7 separate regions of the Homo sapiens genome follow, and regions 1, 2, 3, 4, 5 and 6 are each linked to region 7. Evidence: promoter capture Hi-C in 16 types of primary human blood cells and fetal thymus (Javierre and others, 2016). All regions are on one chromosome and are shown on one strand. Each heading gives the region's core, a stretch centred on a gene start or on the middle of the fragment in contact. The rest is flanking DNA. Distances are from core to core; before and after follow the strand shown.

The links. Contacts are between HindIII fragments. The CHiCAGO score rates a contact against its expected background, and 5 or more counts as called.
Region 1: a contact is called between a fragment that was not itself captured here and the fragment with the promoter of ZSWIM2 in region 7, in 1 of 17 cell types (M2 macrophages). The highest score is 5.9, in M2 macrophages.
Region 2: a fragment that was not itself captured here is called in contact with the fragment with the promoter of ZSWIM2 in region 7 in 6 of 17 cell types (M2 macrophages, M1 macrophages, M0 macrophages and 3 more); the score reaches 9.3 in M2 macrophages.
Region 3: a fragment that was not itself captured here is called in contact with the fragment with the promoter of ZSWIM2 in region 7 in 4 of 17 cell types (M0 macrophages, M2 macrophages, M1 macrophages and 1 more); the score reaches 6.7 in M0 macrophages.
Region 4: a fragment that was not itself captured here is called in contact with the fragment with the promoter of ZSWIM2 in region 7 in 1 of 17 cell types (M2 macrophages); the score reaches 5.7 in M2 macrophages.
Region 5: a contact is called between a fragment that was not itself captured here and the fragment with the promoter of ZSWIM2 in region 7, in 1 of 17 cell types (M1 macrophages). The highest score is 5.2, in M1 macrophages.
Region 6: a contact is called between a fragment that was not itself captured here and the fragment with the promoter of ZSWIM2 in region 7, in 8 of 17 cell types (M2 macrophages, M0 macrophages, M1 macrophages and 5 more). The highest score is 23.4, in M2 macrophages.

Annotation. Positions count from the first base shown.
Region 1 is chr2:187,840,645-187,843,344 of GRCh38, forward strand. No RefSeq gene overlaps it. Among named protein-coding and RNA genes, the nearest start is that of TFPI, 290 kb to the left of the region's middle. The HindIII fragment of the contact is 1,457 bases long and covers 716-2,172 here.
Region 2 is chr2:187,480,986-187,483,685 of GRCh38, forward strand. All of the region lies in intron 6 of TFPI (tissue factor pathway inhibitor), which reads right to left. All of the region lies in intron 2 of CALCRL-AS1 (CALCRL and TFPI antisense RNA 1), which reads left to right. Among named protein-coding and RNA genes, the nearest start is that of CALCRL, 34 kb to the left of the region's middle. The HindIII fragment of the contact is 2,988 bases long and covers 1-2,700 here.
Region 3 is chr2:187,500,941-187,503,640 of GRCh38, forward strand. All of the region lies in intron 2 of TFPI (tissue factor pathway inhibitor), which reads right to left. The region is part of intron 3 of CALCRL-AS1 (CALCRL and TFPI antisense RNA 1); the gene reads left to right. Among named protein-coding and RNA genes, the nearest start is that of TFPI, 52 kb to the right of the region's middle. The HindIII fragment of the contact is 826 bases long and covers 863-1,688 here.
Region 4 is chr2:187,589,364-187,592,063 of GRCh38, forward strand. No RefSeq gene overlaps it. Among named protein-coding and RNA genes, the nearest start is that of TFPI, 36 kb to the left of the region's middle. The HindIII fragment of the contact is 3,117 bases long and covers 1-2,700 here.
Region 5 is chr2:187,571,999-187,574,698 of GRCh38, forward strand. No RefSeq gene overlaps it. Among named protein-coding and RNA genes, the nearest start is that of TFPI, 19 kb to the left of the region's middle. The HindIII fragment of the contact is 3,635 bases long and covers 1-2,700 here.
Region 6 is chr2:187,459,291-187,461,990 of GRCh38, forward strand. The region is part of intron 2 of CALCRL-AS1 (CALCRL and TFPI antisense RNA 1); the gene reads left to right. Among named protein-coding and RNA genes, the nearest start is that of CALCRL, 12 kb to the left of the region's middle. RefSeq lists a silencer at 1,338-1,538. The HindIII fragment of the contact is 953 bases long and covers 836-1,788 here.
Region 7 is chr2:186,847,767-186,850,466 of GRCh38, forward strand. It overlaps ZSWIM2 (zinc finger SWIM-type containing 2), which reads right to left and starts at 1,404. Exons shown (of 9, transcript NM_182521.3): 1 at 1,200-1,404; 2 at 1-29. The coding sequence starts at 1,364. The HindIII fragment of the contact is 8,021 bases long and covers 1-2,700 here.

The sequences.
Region 1 (2,700 bases), core at 194-2,693, 990 kb after region 7:
GATTACAGGTATGTGACACCACGCCCAGCTAATTTTGTATTTGTAATAGAGACGGGGTTTCTCCATGTTGGTCAGGCTGGTCTCGAACTCCTGACCTCAGGTGATCCGCCTTCCTCAGTGTCCCAAAGTGCTGGGATTATAGGCGTGAGCCACCGCAGCTGGCCTACACAGTCTTTTTCAAAAAACAGAGAAGGTAGCAAAACTCCCAATTTATTATACAAGGCTAGCATTACCCAATACCAACACCAAAGGCAGCATACAGACACATGCTCATGTGTACACACACACACACACACACACACAGAAGAAAGTAAAATAAAAAAGAGCCCAGGATTTCTCTTGAAAATATAAATAAAATAAAAATCCTAAACAAAATACTGCAATTCAAATCCAGTATAAATATAGCATGATTGAGTAAGATTAATTCTAGGAATGCAAGGCTGATTTTACCATTCAAAAATTCATCAACATAATCTGTCCTATTAACAAAATAAAGCAAACTTTGTTGGAAGTTCCTTGGCCAGATAAACTATTCTAACTTATTAAAATTGAAACAAAGATCTGAAATGATTGAGAAAATAATTAATTTGATTTATAGACTGGACAGATTTGGCAATCGTAATCTTTATGCTTTTGTTAACAGCTCAAGCAAGTGTGGGAAAAAGGGGACATAATTTTAATGTACTCACTGAGCACAGCAGAAAACATATTAAAAAGCTTATTTTGTCCTTTTTCTTAATCCACCGCTTGTACATTGTATGGAAGAATTAGAGTATTATGCATAATTTAGATACACTTGTCTGCAGAATTATGGTAGATTTTTACCTGGAATACATTTGCATAATAACAAAATAGATCAATAGTTTTAGCTAATTAATGAATAAATATTAAAATCTATTCTGCATTTCACAAGAAATGCTTACATTGACAACTATAATAATGTTTTGGCTGACTTTAACATGGTCTAGTGAATCCTAGCAAAATATCTTCCCAACTCTAAATAGAAAGCACATTCCATACGTGTATGTTAGATATATAATTGTATGTAGAAATGTGGATTTTTTTACATTTAGGATATTAATCAGTATTATAAACATTATTTGTAAATGTAATTATTCTAAATTATCCTTATCATTAATTAATAAGCACTTCAAAATATTTCTAAGATATTTAGTAATTTTTCCTTGTGTGATAAACTTCCTTTAGAGAAATATAGCTATAAGAGGAAACAAAATGTGAGCAACAAAGACATTAAAACATGAAAGTTTCCATATAAGAAACTTAAATAATTGAACAAGCAAAAAACAAATAGCCCCATTGAAAAATGGGCAAAAGACATGAACTAACACTTCTCAAAAGAAGACAGAGAAGCAGCCATAGAAAAAAATGCTCCATATCACTAATCATCAGAGAAATGAAATCAAAATTCCAGTGAGATATCATTTCACATGAGTCAGAATGCCAATTATTAAAAAATCTAAAAGCAACAGAGGCTGGTGAGTCTGTGGCAAAAGGGGAATGCTTATACACTGTTGATAGGAGTGTAAATTAGTTCGGCCACTGTGGAAAGCAGTTTGGAGATTTCTCAAAGAACTTAGAAATATCACTTGACCCAGCAATCCCATTACTGGATATACATCCAAAAGAAAATAAATTGTTCTACCAAAAAGATACATGCACTTACATATTCGTTGCAGCACTATTCACAATAGCAAAGACAGAATCAGCCTAGGTGCCCATCAACAGTGGATTGGATAAAGGAAGTGTGGTTCATATACATCATGGAATTCTATGCAGCCATAAAAAAGAATGATATCATGTCCTATACAACATGGAATACTATGCAGCCATAAAAAATGAAATCATGTCCTTTGCAGAAACATGGATGCAGCTGGAGGCCATTATTCTAAGTGAATTAACACAAGAACAGAAGACCAAATCCCGCATGTTCTCACTTATAAGTGGGAGTTAAATGAACGGTACTCGTGGACATGAAGATGTCAACAATAGACACTGGGGACTACTACTAATGAGCTCCATGTGAGACAGGAAAAGGTAGAGGCATGTTATCAGTCACACAACATTTCAAGGACACATTGGACAGGAGTTTGAATGGCCTGAATAACTGACGTACAGTGTGCAAAGGGAAGCCAGGAGGAATTCTGAAAGCAAAGCTTAAAGACACATATGTTTATAAGTGGTTTAGTTGTTGATTTACATGAAGGCAAATGTAGACATTTAGTACTGCCATCTAGAATCTCTTCAATTTTATTTTATAAGTTCGTGAAGAATGAGAGCATGATGAGAACTGATAGAAAAAGTCATGCCTTGGTCCATGATTTTGTATCAATCAAGGCAAGATAGGAGAAAAGCCTTCTGAGTCTTATGATTCGTTTATATCCAAATGGCTTTGTATGCTGGTTTAATATAAGTGAAGGTGAATTGGAGCAAAAAAGAAAAAATATATATCAATATGCGAAGTGTCTCAGGAAGTCCATGTGGAGGATTGAGCCACAAGAAAGTTGTCATGGAGTCTGGAATGGAGGGGAATTTAATTTTCCATCAGGCACCCAGAGAGGGAAATGAACGTGAATTACTGTAAGATTAGACGGTCCCTGATCTGAAGGAATTCATGTACTTCTAAGTGGGCAACTTTTACTAAGAATTTTTTTCTAAGCTGACAAGAAACACGGTAAAATT
Region 2 (2,700 bases), core at 174-2,673, 630 kb after region 7:
AAAAAGTCATATTATGATAATGTTTAACTAAACTTCTAAAATGCTTCCATAATATCATGAAGAAAAACATTAAAATTATATTTATAAATATTTCACTTAATAATAATTGAATTTTAGAATATTCAAATACTCTACTTAAAGATTGTTATTTAGTGGAAAGAATTTAAAGACTGGTATTCCATTTATGTTGTGGGGCAGATTATTATTCCTGTACATTGAATTGAAACTTTAAAGGATTTACAGCTTTTCAAAATAACCTGATACCACAGAGAACTTTACACGTTTGATAAAACCCTTGAAAAACAAAGTTTTATGTAAACAAAGAATTGCATTTTCTTAAACTACAATAGAATGTATTAATATAATTGTAAGCAGTGACAGATGTAATTATATTTGATTGGGGAAATTAAGAGGTGTCTGTAGATCTCAGCAAACCCCTCAGACAGAAGTGACAAGGGGTCATCTAGGTTTTAGAACAGAGTACAGGGACATCTGCATTCCCACTTCCGCATCTTGGCTGGGGCAGATTCGAAATCACGTAGGTTTTAAGAAGAATGGCAACATAGCTTCATTGACAATCCACCTTATGCCATCCTTAATATCAAATGTCTCCTAGTTACTGCAACATTGTTTCATGTTTTAGATTAGGAAGGAAGAAAGGGAGGGAAGGGAGGGGAGGGGCGGGGAAGGGAAGGGAAGGAAATGCTCTTAGAAAAAGGAAAAGGGGTCAAATTGGCCGGAGGAATGTTGATTTTGAGGCCAATATATACAATCAAAAATAAAACAGTTTTTTAGACAAATAAAGGAGACATTTGCCCTAATTTTAAATGCAGTTACGATAACATTATTCCTTAAATGTCTATTATTCTGAATAAATTATTGTTAATATTGTTTTCTTTTAAATTCATGTTGTCAATTCTTACTGCTTAGTTAATAATTTACTTTTACAAGCATTTATTTATTTGTTACAATTTTCAATGTGCATCTACACAATAAACTAAAGAAGACATATCAGAGGCCATTTAAAACTCATTAATATTACTTTCTCACACTAATTTTTATTTTGCCCTTTCTAACTTGGTAGTATGCTTACCAAAAATTTTAAATTTTATACTTCAAAAAAACTTAAGGCAAAATTATTCCCTAACCTACTCTACTCACTTTAATGATAAATGACTGCAGATCTCCACTTGAATTGGTAAAATAATTCAAACAAAAGTATTCAAGCATGTTGCAAACTGATTTCATACATTTCTTGTACTTACTGATATACTGTGTCACATGTATATTTAAACCTGTTAATTTAGTCATTCTAAATTTTCTTTTACAGCAGTAAGATTTAACGTGCTTTTGAAAATATAATAACTGAATAAAACAAAATACGAGTGAAAAATACAAAGCTGGAAAGACATAAAGAAATAATGCAACGATAGTACTTAATTTTTCAGATAAGTCAGAATCACAAAAGTATTAATTTTTACGAACGAAGTAGTATTTAAAAATTAGACTCAAGTTCATCTGGCATTCAATTCACTGCTCTACCTATTGAATGTAAGGACCTGAAGTCATTTTGAATATATCGTATTTTCCAACTCCCACTGAAAGTTTGCATCCCCTTAATGACCTCTTAAGTGTTAATTGCACACTTATTGAATGCCTACAATTTAGGGAATTTATTAATACCTGAGACAGCCATCAATTTTTTAAGATCTCACATAAGAAAGAAACATATTATAGAAAGGCATTTATACTTTAGTTCTCACACATTAATCCTCATGCTTAGGCTGGGTTGAGGGGGATAAGGGAGGATGGGGATGGGGGTCTGGGGAGGGTGTGAAATAGGCAGGACTAAAGGGTAAGTCATGTAGAGAACTTAATTCTCCTTTCACATAATAGTGTTTCAGTTATTAAAAGCACATATTATGCTCCCTCGTAGATCTCATGTCTCTTTACACTTTTCATTTCCTCTTTAATCATGTTTCAAATCCTCCTTGTGATTTCCAAGGTGTGACATTCAGTGCTGAAGCAAGACCCACAAATGATTAGATCACTGTGGGACTCAGCTGAACATTCACAGACTCTTTCTAGAAAAGTCGGAGTCAACATTTTAATGCTTCAAATCCACGTGGGCAGGGATTTTGTTTGCGTTCTGTTGGCTTGCTTGCTTAGTTGTTCGTTTGTTTGTTTGTTGTAAAGAGGAGTAGCTCAAAGCCAATCTGATTCTGATAAATGGCCAAGGTAGAGAATTCCTGGCCCAAACACTGTTTCTTTTTTTTTTATTATTATTTTAATCCTAAGATTGCAATTTTAATAGTTACAGAATTCTTCACACTCAGGCTAAGTTTATATATAAACATGCCAAGTTTACCTTTGACATGTTCACATGGACTACTTCTAAACAAAATCTTCAATATCTGAATAAGAATATGTGATTTTTATAATTTAGCTAGGATCTAACAATTTTACACTGGTAATTTTTAGCTGTTTATGTTATTTCTAACTGCCCAGATATTTGTGGTTCCTGATTATGTTTTCCAGTATTTTCACTATTTTCTCAGCTCTGCATTTTGTGGAAATATTTCCTGTATATTCGTTTAAATCTGATAAATAGGTTAACAGACAAGAACATAAAAAAGAGTCCTGCAGAATTCAAAAGAAAATTCCCTCCAGAGTGACATAACATTTAGGCATGGTTATTCA
Region 3 (2,700 bases), core at 26-2,525, 650 kb after region 7:
TAAATTAGATGACAGCAACCCCTCGTTCATGGAGCATATAGACACTAAGGACTTACATAAACATTCAGAAAGTCCTGGGTGCTGTGCGAGTGAACAGTAGGATACCTAAATTAGCCTGAAGGGGTCAGCGATAACTTTCCTGAGACTTGAAATTGAGACTTGAAGGAAATGTTTACAGAGGTAATAATTATCTGCCAGCGGCCATGAGAAAGCAAAACACATAGAGGGCAATCTAAAAGGAATTTAATCTGATCCAGTCATATAAATAGAATTATGGTTTATATTGAATCATTTGCCTTTGATGTCATGAATTTTATGTCTCATAGTCTAAAGGTTACAATCCTGCCTTCCCCTTCCCTCCCCCCGCCCCATGTCCTGGGATGTTGGATAGAAGCTTACTATAATATTTGCTGCCTGAAAACATATCATGCCCTTGACTGTAAGAATACTCATCCTCTTGGAACTTATTTGCAAATCTAGGGCTTTCAGGTAACTTACCATCTAAGAATCCACATGCTGCTAGACTCTAATTAAAGGATTTTATTTTATTTTATTTTATTTTCTGGCAGGGAAGAACAAACACATGTACCTTTTGCCTTCTCTGTGTCAGAAAATGTGCCAGATGCTTTTCCACTTTTTATATAAAAATCATAGGAAATTAGTTATTTACATTATTCATTTACAGCTTAGGACACTGGTAGTCAGAAAGTTTAACTTATTCAGTCTCACAAAGGTACTAGGTGGCAAACTACACCTGCAAACTCAGGTCTGTCTGATTCTAAATCCTACAAAAGATACTTGCCTTTCACTAAATGTTCACTCTTAATTTTCTCTCTCCTAGCCCAATGGAATTGTTTTAAAAAGCTTATCACTACTCTTTTTATTATCATTTTTGCCTTATCTAGACGTTAATTCTAGATTATCCTCCCTGCTGATTTGACTGTTAAAAAAATCATCTACTATTTGCTTGTGAGAGAAGCAATAAAATTTGATGTATTTTTCTATTAATAAGAGTACCTTATTTCAATTAAATAATATACTTCTATAAAATGATGTTATGATCTTAGCATCATGTGATAAATTGTATCTCCTAAATAGAATTTTTTCAGATGTGAGATAAGGTTATTATAAAAATTAATTTTAAACAAAAACAAAATAAAACTAGATAAAACTGCAACTAGTTGGTGAAGAGGTCTTTAAGTCTAGCTTAAATATCAAAATTCTTTGTTACCACCTAGGTTTGGAAGCTACCTTATAGTAATTTTAAATTCTGGCTTAATTACTGATAACTTAATTCTGGATTATTGATTGACAGTGGCAGCAGCCACAATTTCAGGAACTTCCTGGTTAACCAATATTCATTTTCTCAGTCCAGTTGAGGAAAATTGGACTGGGACAAATACAGGGAACACTTGGATCTATTTGCTTCTCACTTCCCACAAGTGAGATTGCCTGTTTTTTCCCTGTTAAGACTTATTTTATCCTCCACCTTCCTTGTTTCTGTAACCTCCAGAATGTTAGAATTTTAACCCACCACCTTTTGAGAAAAAAGCCGAATGAGGGATTGAAACTCATAATGTTCAAATTCTTATTTTCAAAAAGGTACATTAGGGTTTTTACTAAATAATGCTTCATCTCTAGGAAATTTTTATAACATGACTTCCCCTTGTGGAGCCCTCAGAGAGCCAAGCTTGATTGAATCTCCTTCCTCTTCCCATCAACAGCAGCACTCTCCATGCTTCTGTCACTTTGTGTACTACTTTATACGGAAATAAACTGTCCACCCTTCACACTCCCCTAGGAAACAGTGAGATTCTTGAGCACCTCATCTCAGCCATACCTGTTTCTCTAGCACCTTCCACAGATTCAGGCCCAGAAGATGTATTTATTCAAACTTTATTAAAGTACACTGAACACAGTCATTTTAAAAAGCTATTAAAGCTATCAAATAAGAATGCATTTATGGAAATCTTTTTTACATCTTAAACCACTATACAAAAATAAGCTATCATTTTGTTAATATTCTCTCATTAATACCAATGCTTGAGATTTCTGTCAACAATTTACTAATTTGCCACAAAATGTTACTTTAAGAAAGGTATATATCCACAATAACCATCACCATACAGTCTTCTCCTTGCTCTATTTTTTATTGTTAATATTCTCATTTTTAGACACAGAGTTTTATGGGATTAGATCTAACTTATATTACTAGATCCTTTGGTGTCCTGGTTGACTAGATTTTTATATTAGTCTCAACTGGGAAGTTTTGATTTTGGAAATATGGGGAAGAAAGAGAGAATAGCTGAAACCTCAGATGTCTGAAGTTCCCTTTCCTCCTCACACTTTTCCTAGCCAAAGGGTAGCATCAAATGTCATAGGGAGTTGTTTTTACAACATTTTGCTCCTTGCAATAGCCCGGAGCTACTCCAGTGTTTAATATTGTATGCTGAAAAAAAAGAGAGAAGTGTTTCAGCTAAAGTTACTTGGTTTCGGACTGTTTAAAACACACATGTGCATGTACACACACACACACACACACACACACACACACACACACATACATTAGGTATAATAAATTTCCAAAGAAAAATATCACTTCAATAACAACTAATTTCCCTCCACAATGGAAAACTATGGTAGATTTTTTAGATTAAAATTGAGAGCTTTAACTAGCTTAAAAAGATAATTGCTTCTAAT
Region 4 (2,700 bases), core at 96-2,595, 740 kb after region 7:
TCTTGCTCTCATCTGGAACTTAAGCTGAGAATGAATCAAAGAGAAATAGCACTGGGTTGAGTTAAACAGGTGAAGAAGACTTTATTCAAGACTATTGTAGTAGGGATCAAGCCTATTACAATACGGAGAGAGACTGAATTCAACTCCACTGAAAACAAAAGTCAGGAGAGTCTTAAGCACTGGGGCTAGCTAAGGAAACAGTGGTGGATAATGTTAGGGCGGAGGTTGGTCAATGTGATTAGCCATCTGTGTTTGCTAATTGGTATTTATCAAAGTTAGGCTCCTACCTAAGTAATCATCAAGAAAGATACTACCCCATCTCTCATAGAGACTGGGAGATGGGCTAATTTTTTGTTGATGATTACATTTCAATGGTTTAGCTCTCAGGTCCTTGGGAAAGACTTCTCAGGACTGCAAAACTGTCAAGAGGCTGGGAACCGATGGATATTTCAAAGGGGCAAATAAGTAATTTACAATTGCAAGTTTTCTAAAGTTAATGCTCTAAGAACAAGAAGATTAGGGGCTCACAGTTAGTAAGAAAACTGTATAATGCTTTGTCAAAATGAGGGGAACATGAGTGTTTTAAGTCTATCTTGGTCAAGTGCCATCAGGAACATCTACATGTGTCCTCTGAAAATGACTGCTTGGCTTCCTCGCAGTAAGGGTGGCTGGGGGTCAAAAGCAAACATTCCCTTTCAAGAAGGAGTTTCTATGACTTAACCTCAAAAGTCATATTGAGCATCTCTTCTGCTGCATTGTGTTTATTGAGACAGTTAACAAAAGTCTATCCGAGGAAAAGTAGAGAGGAAGAAGTTTACACTTCTTGATAGGAGAGTGACAAAATTCTGGAAAAGCATATTATTACATCTGTTTTTGGAAAATACAATCTGCCACCCTGGCACACATATTATTAAATATCAACAATAAGTGTAGAAATTGTTTGCAACTACACCAACATTTTTTTTAGGAGTATTATCACTGACATAGTTTAGAATTGCTGATGCCTAATAAAGAAATGCCAACTAAGTTGATTTTTGTATTAGTACCTTTTCATACCGCTATGAAGAAATACCCTAGGCTGGGTAATTTATACAGAAAAAGAGGTTTAATGGACTCACAATTCCACATGGCTGGGGAGACCTTACAGTCATGATGAAAGGCAAAGGAGGAGCAAAGGCATGCCTTACATGTTGGCAGGCAAGAGAGTGAGTGCAGGGGAACTGCCCTTTATAAAGCCATCAGATTTCCTGAGAGTTATTCACTATCAGGAGAACAGCATGGGAAAAACCCACCCCCATGATTCAATTACCTCACACTGGGTCCCTCCCTTGATACATGGGGATTATGGGAGCTACAACTCAAGATGAGATTTGGGTGGGGACACAGCTAAACCATATCAGTCTGCCCCAGCCCCTCCCAAATCTTATGTCCTCACATGTCAAAACCAATGATGCCTTCCCAACAGTCCCCAAAAGTCTTAACTCATTTCAGTATTAACCCAAAAGCCCAGGTCCAAAGTCTCATTTGAGACAAGGCAAGTCCTTTCTGGCTATGAGCCTGTAAAATCAAAGCAAGTTAGTTACTTCCTAAATATAATGGGGGTACAGGCATTGGGTAAATACACCCATTCTAAAGGGGAGAAATTGGCCAAAACAAAGGGGCTACAGGCCCCATGCAAATCCAAAACCCAGCAGGGTAGTCATTAAACCTTAAAGTTTCCAAATGATCTCCTTTGACTCCATGTCTCACATCCAGATCACACTGATAAAAGAGACGGATTCCCACGGCTTTGAGCAGCCTCACCCTTGTGGCTTTTCAGGATACAGCCCTCCTCCCAGTTGCTTTCACAGGCTTGCTTTGAGTGTCTGTGGCTTTTGCAAGCTCACAGGGCAAGCTATTGGTGGATCTACTGTTCTGGAGTCTGGAGGACAGGGGCCCTCTTCTCACAGCTCCATTAGGCAGTGCCTCAGTGGAGACTCTCTGTTACTGGGAGTAAGTGTAACACAGAGACTCTGCGTGGGTGACTCCAACCCTACATTTGCCTTTTGCACTACCCTAGCAGAGGTTTTCCATGAGGGCTCCACGCATGCAGCAAACTTCAGCCTGAACATCCATGCATTTCCCTACATCTATTGAAATGTAGCTGGAGGTTCCCAAACCTTAATTATTGTCTTCTGTGCACCTGCAGGGCCAACACCACATGGAAAATGCCAAGACTTGGGGATTTCACCATCTGAAACATGGCCTGAGCTATATGTTGGCCTCTTTTAGCCACAGTTGGGATGCAAGGCACCAAGTCCTGAGACTGCTCAAAGCAGCAAGGCCCTGGGCCTCACCTATGAAACCATTTTTACCTCCTAAGCCTTGGTGCCTATTATAGGAGGGGCTGCTGTGAAGACCTCTGACTTGCCCTGGAGACATTTCCTCTTTGCCTTGATGATTAACATTTGGCTCCTCGTTACTTGTGCAAATTTCTGCAGCAGGTTTGAATTTTTTCCCCTGAAGATGGGTTTTTCTTTTATATTGTATCATCTGGTTGCAAATTTTCAAAACTTATGCTCTGCTTCTCTTTTAAACATACGTTTTAATTTCAGATTATCTCTCTCAAGTTCAAAGTTCCCCAGATCTCTAAGGCAGGGACAAAATGCTGCCACTCTCTTTGCTAAAGCATAGCAAGAGTGACTTTTGCTCCAGTTCCCA
Region 5 (2,700 bases), core at 46-2,545, 720 kb after region 7:
TGCTATCCCTCCTCTAGTCCTCCACCCCGCTACAGGCCCCAGTGTGTGATGTTCCTCTCCCTGTGTCCATGTGTTCTCATTATTCAACTCTCTCTTATGAGTGAGAACATGCGGTGTTTGGTTTTCTGTTCCTGTGTTAGTTTGCTGAGAATGATGGTTTCCAGCTTCATCCATGTCCCTGCAAAGGACATGAACACATCCTTTTTTATGGCTGTGTAGTATTCCATGGTGTATATGTGCCACATTTTCTTTATCGGCTGTATCATTGACGGGCATTTGGGTTGGTTCCAAGTCTTTGCTATTGTGAATAGTGCTGCAATAAACATATGTGTGCATGTGTCTTTATAGTAGAATGATTTATAATCCTTCGGGTATATACTCAGTAATGGGGTTGCTGTGTCAAATGGTATTTTTGGTTCTAGATCCTTGAGTAATTGCCACACTGTCATCTGCAGTGGCTGAACTAACTTACACTCCCACCAACAGTGTAAAAGCATTCCTGTTTCTCCACATCCTCTCCAGCATCTGTTGTTTCTGACTGTTTAATGAGTGCGATTCTAACATGAGATGGTATCTCATTGTGGTTTTGATTTGCATTTCTCTAATGACCAGTGATAATGAGCTTTTTTTTTCATATGTTTGTTGGCCACATAAATGTCTTCTTTTTAGAAGTGTCTGTTCATATCCTTCACCCACTTTTTAATAGGGTTGTTTGTTTTTTTCTTGCAAATTTGTTTATGTTCCTTGTAGATTCTGGCAAATTGTCTCTGTTTGCAGATGACATGATTGTATATTTAGAAAAACCCATTGTCTCAGCCCAAAATTTTCTTAAGCTGATAAACAACTTGAGCAAAGTCTCAGGATACAAAATCAATGTGAAAAAATCACAAGCATTCCTATACATTAATAACAGACAAACAGAGAGCCAAATCATGAGTGAACTCCCATTCCCAATTGCTACAAAGAGAATAAAAGACCTAGGAATACAACTCACAAGAGATGTGAAGGACCTCTTCAAGGAGATCTACAAACCACTGTTCAAGGAAATAAGAGAGGACACAAATAAATGGAAAAACATTCCATGCTCATGGATAGGAAGAATTACTTTGGCCATACTGCCCCAAGTAATTTACAGATTCAATGCTATCCCCATCCAGCTACCACTGACTTTCTTTACAGAATTAGAAAAAACAAACTACTTTAAATTTCATATGGAACCAAAAAGAGCCCATAAAGCCAAGAGAATCCTAAGCAAAAAGAATAAAGCTGGAGGCATCACGTTACCTGACTTCAAACTATACTACAAGGCTACAGTAACGAAAACAGCATGGTACTGGTACCAAAAGGTATATATAGACCAATGGAACAGAACAGAGGCCTCAGAAATAACACCACACATCTTCAACCATCTGATCTTTGACAAACCTGACAAAAAAACAGCAATGGGGAAAGGATTCCCTATTTAATAAATGGTGTTGGGAAAACTGGCTAGCCATATGTAGAAAACTGAACTGGACCCTTTCCTTACACCTTATACAAAGATATGTGTAATATTTTTTATAAAATCTGAAAATTGAAAGCAATTAATTTTTTTGAACATTAAATTCAGGGGTACATATGCAGGTTTGCTATACAGGTAAATTATGTGTCATGAGTGTTTAGTGTATAGATTATTTTGTTACCCAGGTAATAAGCACAGTATCTGATAGTTTTTCACTCCCCACCTCCTTCCCAACCTCCACCTTCAAGTAGGCTCCAGTGTCTGTTGTTCCCTTCTTTGTGTCCATATGTACTTGATGTTTAGCTCCCACTTACAAATGAGAAAATGTGGTATTTGGTTTTTGTTCCTGTGTTAGTTTGCTAAGGGTAACGGCCTCCACCTCTATCCATGTCACTGCAAAGGATATGATCTGATTCTTTTTCATGGCTGCCTAGTATTCCATGGTGTATATGTACCAACCACATTTTCTTTATCCAGTCTTCTGTGGATGGGCATTTAGGTTGATCGATGTCTTTGCTATTATGAATAGTGCTGCAGTAAATGAACATGTGCATGTGTATTTGTGAAAGAATGACATAACAATTTAAAAATTAATCATTGTGGACTGAATAAATACATTTTGGTATAATCATTTGATAGAAGACTATTTGGATAAAATACAGTAATACAGTATTTAGATAAAATACAGTATACACATGACCAGGACAAAAAATAAATCAGAGTAAAAGTTAAGAACAATATCATTTACCTAATTTTAGAAATACACATAGCTATATATGCAATAAAAGGACATATAGTTACATTTTGTTGTTTGTTCTAGAAAGGAGGGGAGAGGAATGCAATAGGGAAAGACTATAAAGAATAATGTGGCCTTCAACTATACATGTAATATTTTATATATCTTATATGAAATACTAAATAATACTGTATTTTACACAAAATACTATATAATAAAATATAAATTATTACATATAACATGGAGCAATTACAATGAAAATGCTAGTATTTACTAATTGTGGATGATTGCTACTGGAATTTTGGGATATTTTCCTTTCTACTTTTCCTCGTTTTCAAATATTTAAATTAAAAATAAATTAGAACATATACAACAGAAAAATATTAGACATTTTTACAGTTCATTCTTTCCAAAATGCTTAATTTTAAAAATTATAATAACTACCTAAATGAAAGAAAAAATA
Region 6 (2,700 bases), core at 62-2,561, 610 kb after region 7:
ACTTTCTCATTGAACAGTGGCAGAAACTTTCAATAAAAAATGGTAATTGTTTATTTCGTCGTCTCTGGAGTAACAATTTCTTGGCAAGATGGATCATTTAGGTAGCTCACAGCTGTTCACATCTTGAAACTCTGGAAATTTCCCTAGAGTGACTTACAAATTTTGTGGAACATTCTGTTGAGAGTGGGGAATATGTTTTAAAAAAAAATACTGTTGGAAAGTCAAAGTTCTTGCTTTCTGATTCCAAAAACTGACTAACAAGAAGGAAGTAGCAGTTTCCTCTGGCTTCTAATTTAAGAACACCTGCAGCTTAGAAAAAGAGTTCAGTAAATTAGAATTATGCCCCTTGTGCAAATACAGATTAAATATGGATTAAGTCCCTAAAGAAATTCAAGTTCATAATTGAGTTGGCTGATTTTATCTTGTAATGAAAAAGAATAGCAAATCATCAACAATGTTGACAGGAATGAGTTGATTTTGGCTACAATTAGGATTTGTCTAAAACTTAGAATAAATTGTTGATTGAGATAAAACATTTTGGTACTAGAAAAATCTAATTCTAGTTAATTATTCTTAATTAAATTTGGCTTGCTTTTTTAGAATACTTAAGAGACAAAAACGGTCTAAAAATTATTTCAAAACTTCTCATGAGGTTGAAACGCCTTGATGAGTAGTATAAATCAGATCCACATATATTATTTTCCCTACGATATATATAATATTGAGAAAGAAAAAGTTAATGGATTCAGAAATGTTTTTTGATTATAAAACCCATTATTAAGGCATTCAGAAAATCCCACAGTATGTGGGACCTCCTGTAAGGTAATTACTTGGAAGCTTCTCATAAAATCTTTTGATGTTTGGGAATTAATCAGGCACTGGAAAAGGAAATTGTAGGTATAGTCAGTTTGAAGATGTCAAGCTCCATCAGCATAGGCTATTTTTGAAGAATATAGAAGACTACTGTACATAACAACCTTATGCTGGGGGGGGTATGGATATTGCTAACAGTAGAATCCGGCCAATGTTGATTTTTATTTTTTAATCACAGAACATCTCTCCATTTTTTTTTGGCTTAACATATGTTGGTATTAGATACTTTTAAATAGAGAGTATTGCCATAAAATCTTAAAATTACCCAAACCAAAAAACTTGTTTATATAACCAGTCTAGTCCAAAACACTCATTCTAAATATAAGTAAATATGGGGCCAGAGAAATTAGATGGTCAAAAAAATTCATCCACTAGGTTAGTACTGGTACTAGAAACAGTATCTCTTAGTTTATATTCTAAAACTTTTTCCCAAAGCCTCTTTCCCATCTTTCAGCAAAGCACTACACACACATAATTGAAAGATAAGTTAGTACAAACAGACTTCTAGCAAGTAAATAGCCATTCTCCATCCCTCAGACTTCTACATTCAACTGTCTTGTGGCTTCCTTCCATTACTGTCATGGAAATATACAATTCCTTTTTATTTCTATTTCTTTGTATGTGACTTATCCCTCCACAGTCTCCTGTTCTTAGGACTTTTCTCTTCGTTACTAGAATTTGAAATTTCATGTGTGTGCAGAGGGGGTATGTCAGGCGGTTACCCTTTGTTGGGTACAACACACCATTTCAGTGAAGGGAATCTCTGTTATTCTTTTTCTGTAAGATGTCTCTCCCCTCTATTTATCTCTGCTATTTTCCAGATCCTTTTGACACTTCAAGGTAGGGCACCTGAACTAATTGCGAAATTTTATCTTTTCTATCTTCTTTTCCATCCTAATGACCTCTTCTTTCCAAAGCTTAGAGATTTTTTTTTTTAACTTTATCTTCTATTTCTTGATTTTAAAAAACCATTTATTTCATTTTAATTACCAAGAGTTTCTTTCTTATAACCTAGTGTTATCATTGGCTGATTTCTCTGTGAATACTAATTATAGAAGTTACAACAAACAGGAAAATATTTAGCTCCATTTATGTACTTCAATAACATATTTGAATTTTCAATATAAGATTTTTTTATCTAAAAGTTTTTAAAATCATCTTTTGTGGGATTTACTGTTGGGCAAATTAGGGTTTCTGTTCTATTGTGGCTAGTACATTTTTCCTAGTGTACAGAAATGCTATTGATTTTGATACAGGAGTGCTGGGAAGGGACGAGCATGGTCCCTTTAAATGATACCGAACGGGGGACAGGGAAGTGCTGGGTAGAGCAAGGCCGGTTCCTGGCTAGGGCTTCACCCTCTGGCTTGTGCCCACGAACCTAGGTGAGGACAGGCACTCCTGCCTTTGGGCCCAAATGTTGCATTTTCCAAAACCACCCTGGCCCACCACACCCCCATCCTGGGCGGATAAAAACTGAGACCCTAGCAGGCAGATAGATACACAAGCGTCTGGACGTCCAGAGGAGGGGATCAGCGGAAGAAGACACAAGCAGCCGGACATCGAGAGGATGTCGAGGGGAGCATGCCAGTGGAAGAGCACATGACAGACACTGGCAGGACAGCAGGCCATTGACTGGAGGAACGATGTGGAGTTTAGCGAGATCAGGAGGAGGAGAGCACGGGCCGCTAAGCAGAGGGACCCCTGGTGCATCTCCCATCTGGCTCCCCCATCTGCTGAGAACTACTTCTACTCAGTAAAACCTCGGACTCATTCTCCAAGCCCTCGCGTGATCTGGTTCTTCCGGTACACCACGGCAGGAAACCCTGG
Region 7 (2,700 bases), core at 154-2,653:
TTACAAACGTGAGGATTTCCTAGAAAAACCTTTAAAGGAAAAATGCATACTTAAAAAGACCAGTAAAATTTGAGAGTTAGAGCAAAACTGAGTTAATAAAAGAGATTTGAAGAGGTAATTTAGTTTAGGTGATTCAAAAAGGTTGAATAGATTCTACTGGAGAATCTTAATTCTTGATACTAGTCTCTAGGCTTCATTATTTATCTTTGTTAGCAAATTAACAAATTAGGATGGTTTTAAAGTGACCTGCCCTTAGGCAGGTGAAAATAAATCTAATTCCCAAAGTCAGAGAAGAAAAAAAGCAAATATCAACCCATAAATTCCTCACAGTAAGGAAATTCTACTTTGGGGTGGAGCTAAGCACCTTTTGTAAGGTAGCTCATTTTGGATTTTTGTTTGGTGCATTTGAGTCGGTGAATTTATTTAATTTTATTCAAGAGGACAAAATTTATTCACCAAGACTAGTTTGGCTAAAACTATTAAATACAGTAAGTATTGAAGCAACAAAGTAAAAAAAGATGCTTTAAATAAGCACAGACTAGTAAATTGCATTCAATTCTTAAACTTCACGGCACTAACGTAAAATTTTGTAAGTCAACTCCTAGGAGGTAGTGCAGTGGCTAATTTTTGAGTGGTTAAGGATGGGATATGCAATTATGAAATATCTGTGGTCTTTCAGTAAACTTGAATTTTTATTCATTAATATCTTTCCAAGGTATTGCCATTTAAACCATCCTTTAATAGGGCCTTCATACAGTTTCAGAGTGAGCAAAGAGTAAAGGGAAACCTATTTATTTATTTAGAAAATATTTACAGTATGCTAGCAGATTGTAGAATTTTCATTTCGTTTGATTTACAGGACTAAGGACCACTAACAACAGATCCAAGAACACATGTAATGCCAACCAGGTATTCATACGCCTCTGACATTTTCAAGCCTAAAGATCAAGAGCCATCATCTTTTACAAGAGTTGCAGTTTGGTCTTAACCTCCAAAAAAGAAACTTCTAATAAATACTATTTCCTTCTGTAATTTCACGTATTTTAGAGTCTGGAACACTCGTGGGAAGGCGCTTTCGGGGGTGAGGCAGCAAGTATCCGCAGAGATTGTGATGGTGGCTACGCACATTGGGTATGCCAGTGGGGGAACCTGGTGGGCGGGGATGATGGCCAACTGGGGGCGGTAGGGGCGGTAGTTACTCGGAAATCCATGTATTCCGGCTCCTCCTCCCTCAGCAGGAAGCCAGTGGGGCCCATCTCTCGTAGGAGGTAGATGCTGCTACTCAGCGCCTGGTCTTGGTGCCAGCTGAGCCTCTCGCTCAAGTGTCTTCGCCTTTCAGAGGCCTTATAGCCTCGGCGAAGCATGCTGGGTGCGGGCGGAGGCGGCCCCTCTGCTCGGCTCACTGAGGCGCCAGCCGGTCTCCAAGACGACGGCGTGCAGGCTGGTTGCCTTGGTGACGGTGGTTGGGCTCGGGGTGTCCCGGTGTGCCCTGCGCCGAAGAAGAGCGGGCGACAAAGGTGCGGGATGGCATGGATTCTGCAACTCTCCCCAGCCTCCACTGCGTTTCGAAGCGACGCCCTTGACTGAGGAGTGTTTTTAATAATCATCTGGCCGACTTGGAAGCTGGAGGCCGAAGGCATAGCTGTCAATTTTCTTGCGTTCCTTCTGCTTCCTCGGGGCAGAGATGGTGAAATCTACTTGTTAGGACAGTTGCAAACCCGATTGCAGTCTGGGCTCTGGATGCTGAAATTATCCTGTGATGATTCATCATCTTTAACAGAAAGCCGAGGTTACAGAGCCCAGAGTGATTTTTGACGTTCCACAATATTCCACGAACATTTTCTGATTGCTCACTATATGCATAGATTGACTGAGTCTCTGGGGGAAAGATGTAGAAGACAGGAGTTCTAAACCCTAGGAAGTGCATCACCGGTAGTGGCGCCGGCTGTAGTCCCAGCTACTTGGGAGGAAACCAGATCCTTAAGTCATTTCTCTCTGCCTCTCTCTCTCTCTCTCTCTCTCTCTCTCTCTCTCTCTGTGTGTGTGTGTGTGTGTGTGTGTGTTGGAGGGGAAATGGTCTTCCAAGTGAGGGAACATTTTTTAATTGCATGTTTGGGTAGGGGTGGGTGTTGGGGATGGTACAGCCAGAATGGTGGATGGTGGTACGTCCTGAATGGTGGCACAGAATCCATTGACTATGGGTACATGAAACTTACAAATCTGTATACTAAGGAATAAGAGTTTCAAGGTATGCAATGTTTGTACCTCCAATAATTTAAATTGTCTCTGAGGTTTGTTTACCACATTTTAGGGGGAAAACTGTAATAAAGTATGGGTCAACATTTTGAGTCATAATTACTGAAAAAAGAAGCCACATTACTAGAATCTCTATAGGAAATTAAAAGCAGGAGATAGCACTACTTGGAGGTCCAGTAACCTTTGCCTTGGTGGCCAAAGATAGAGCATATTTGTCCTATTTTATCATGGGCAGAAATCATAACTAGATTATGTCAACAGCAGGAGAGTTCTCAGAAAATGGCAAGGGCAAAAGATGAAAGAAGATGATGGTAATGGCAGCTTTCACAGGTGAGACACCTGGATAAACATCATCCAACCCTTAAAGTCTTAGGTCTAAGGTCTAAGGTTTTAATTTACTAAATTTTATTTTTATTCTCCTATTCTGACTAATAACAACTCACA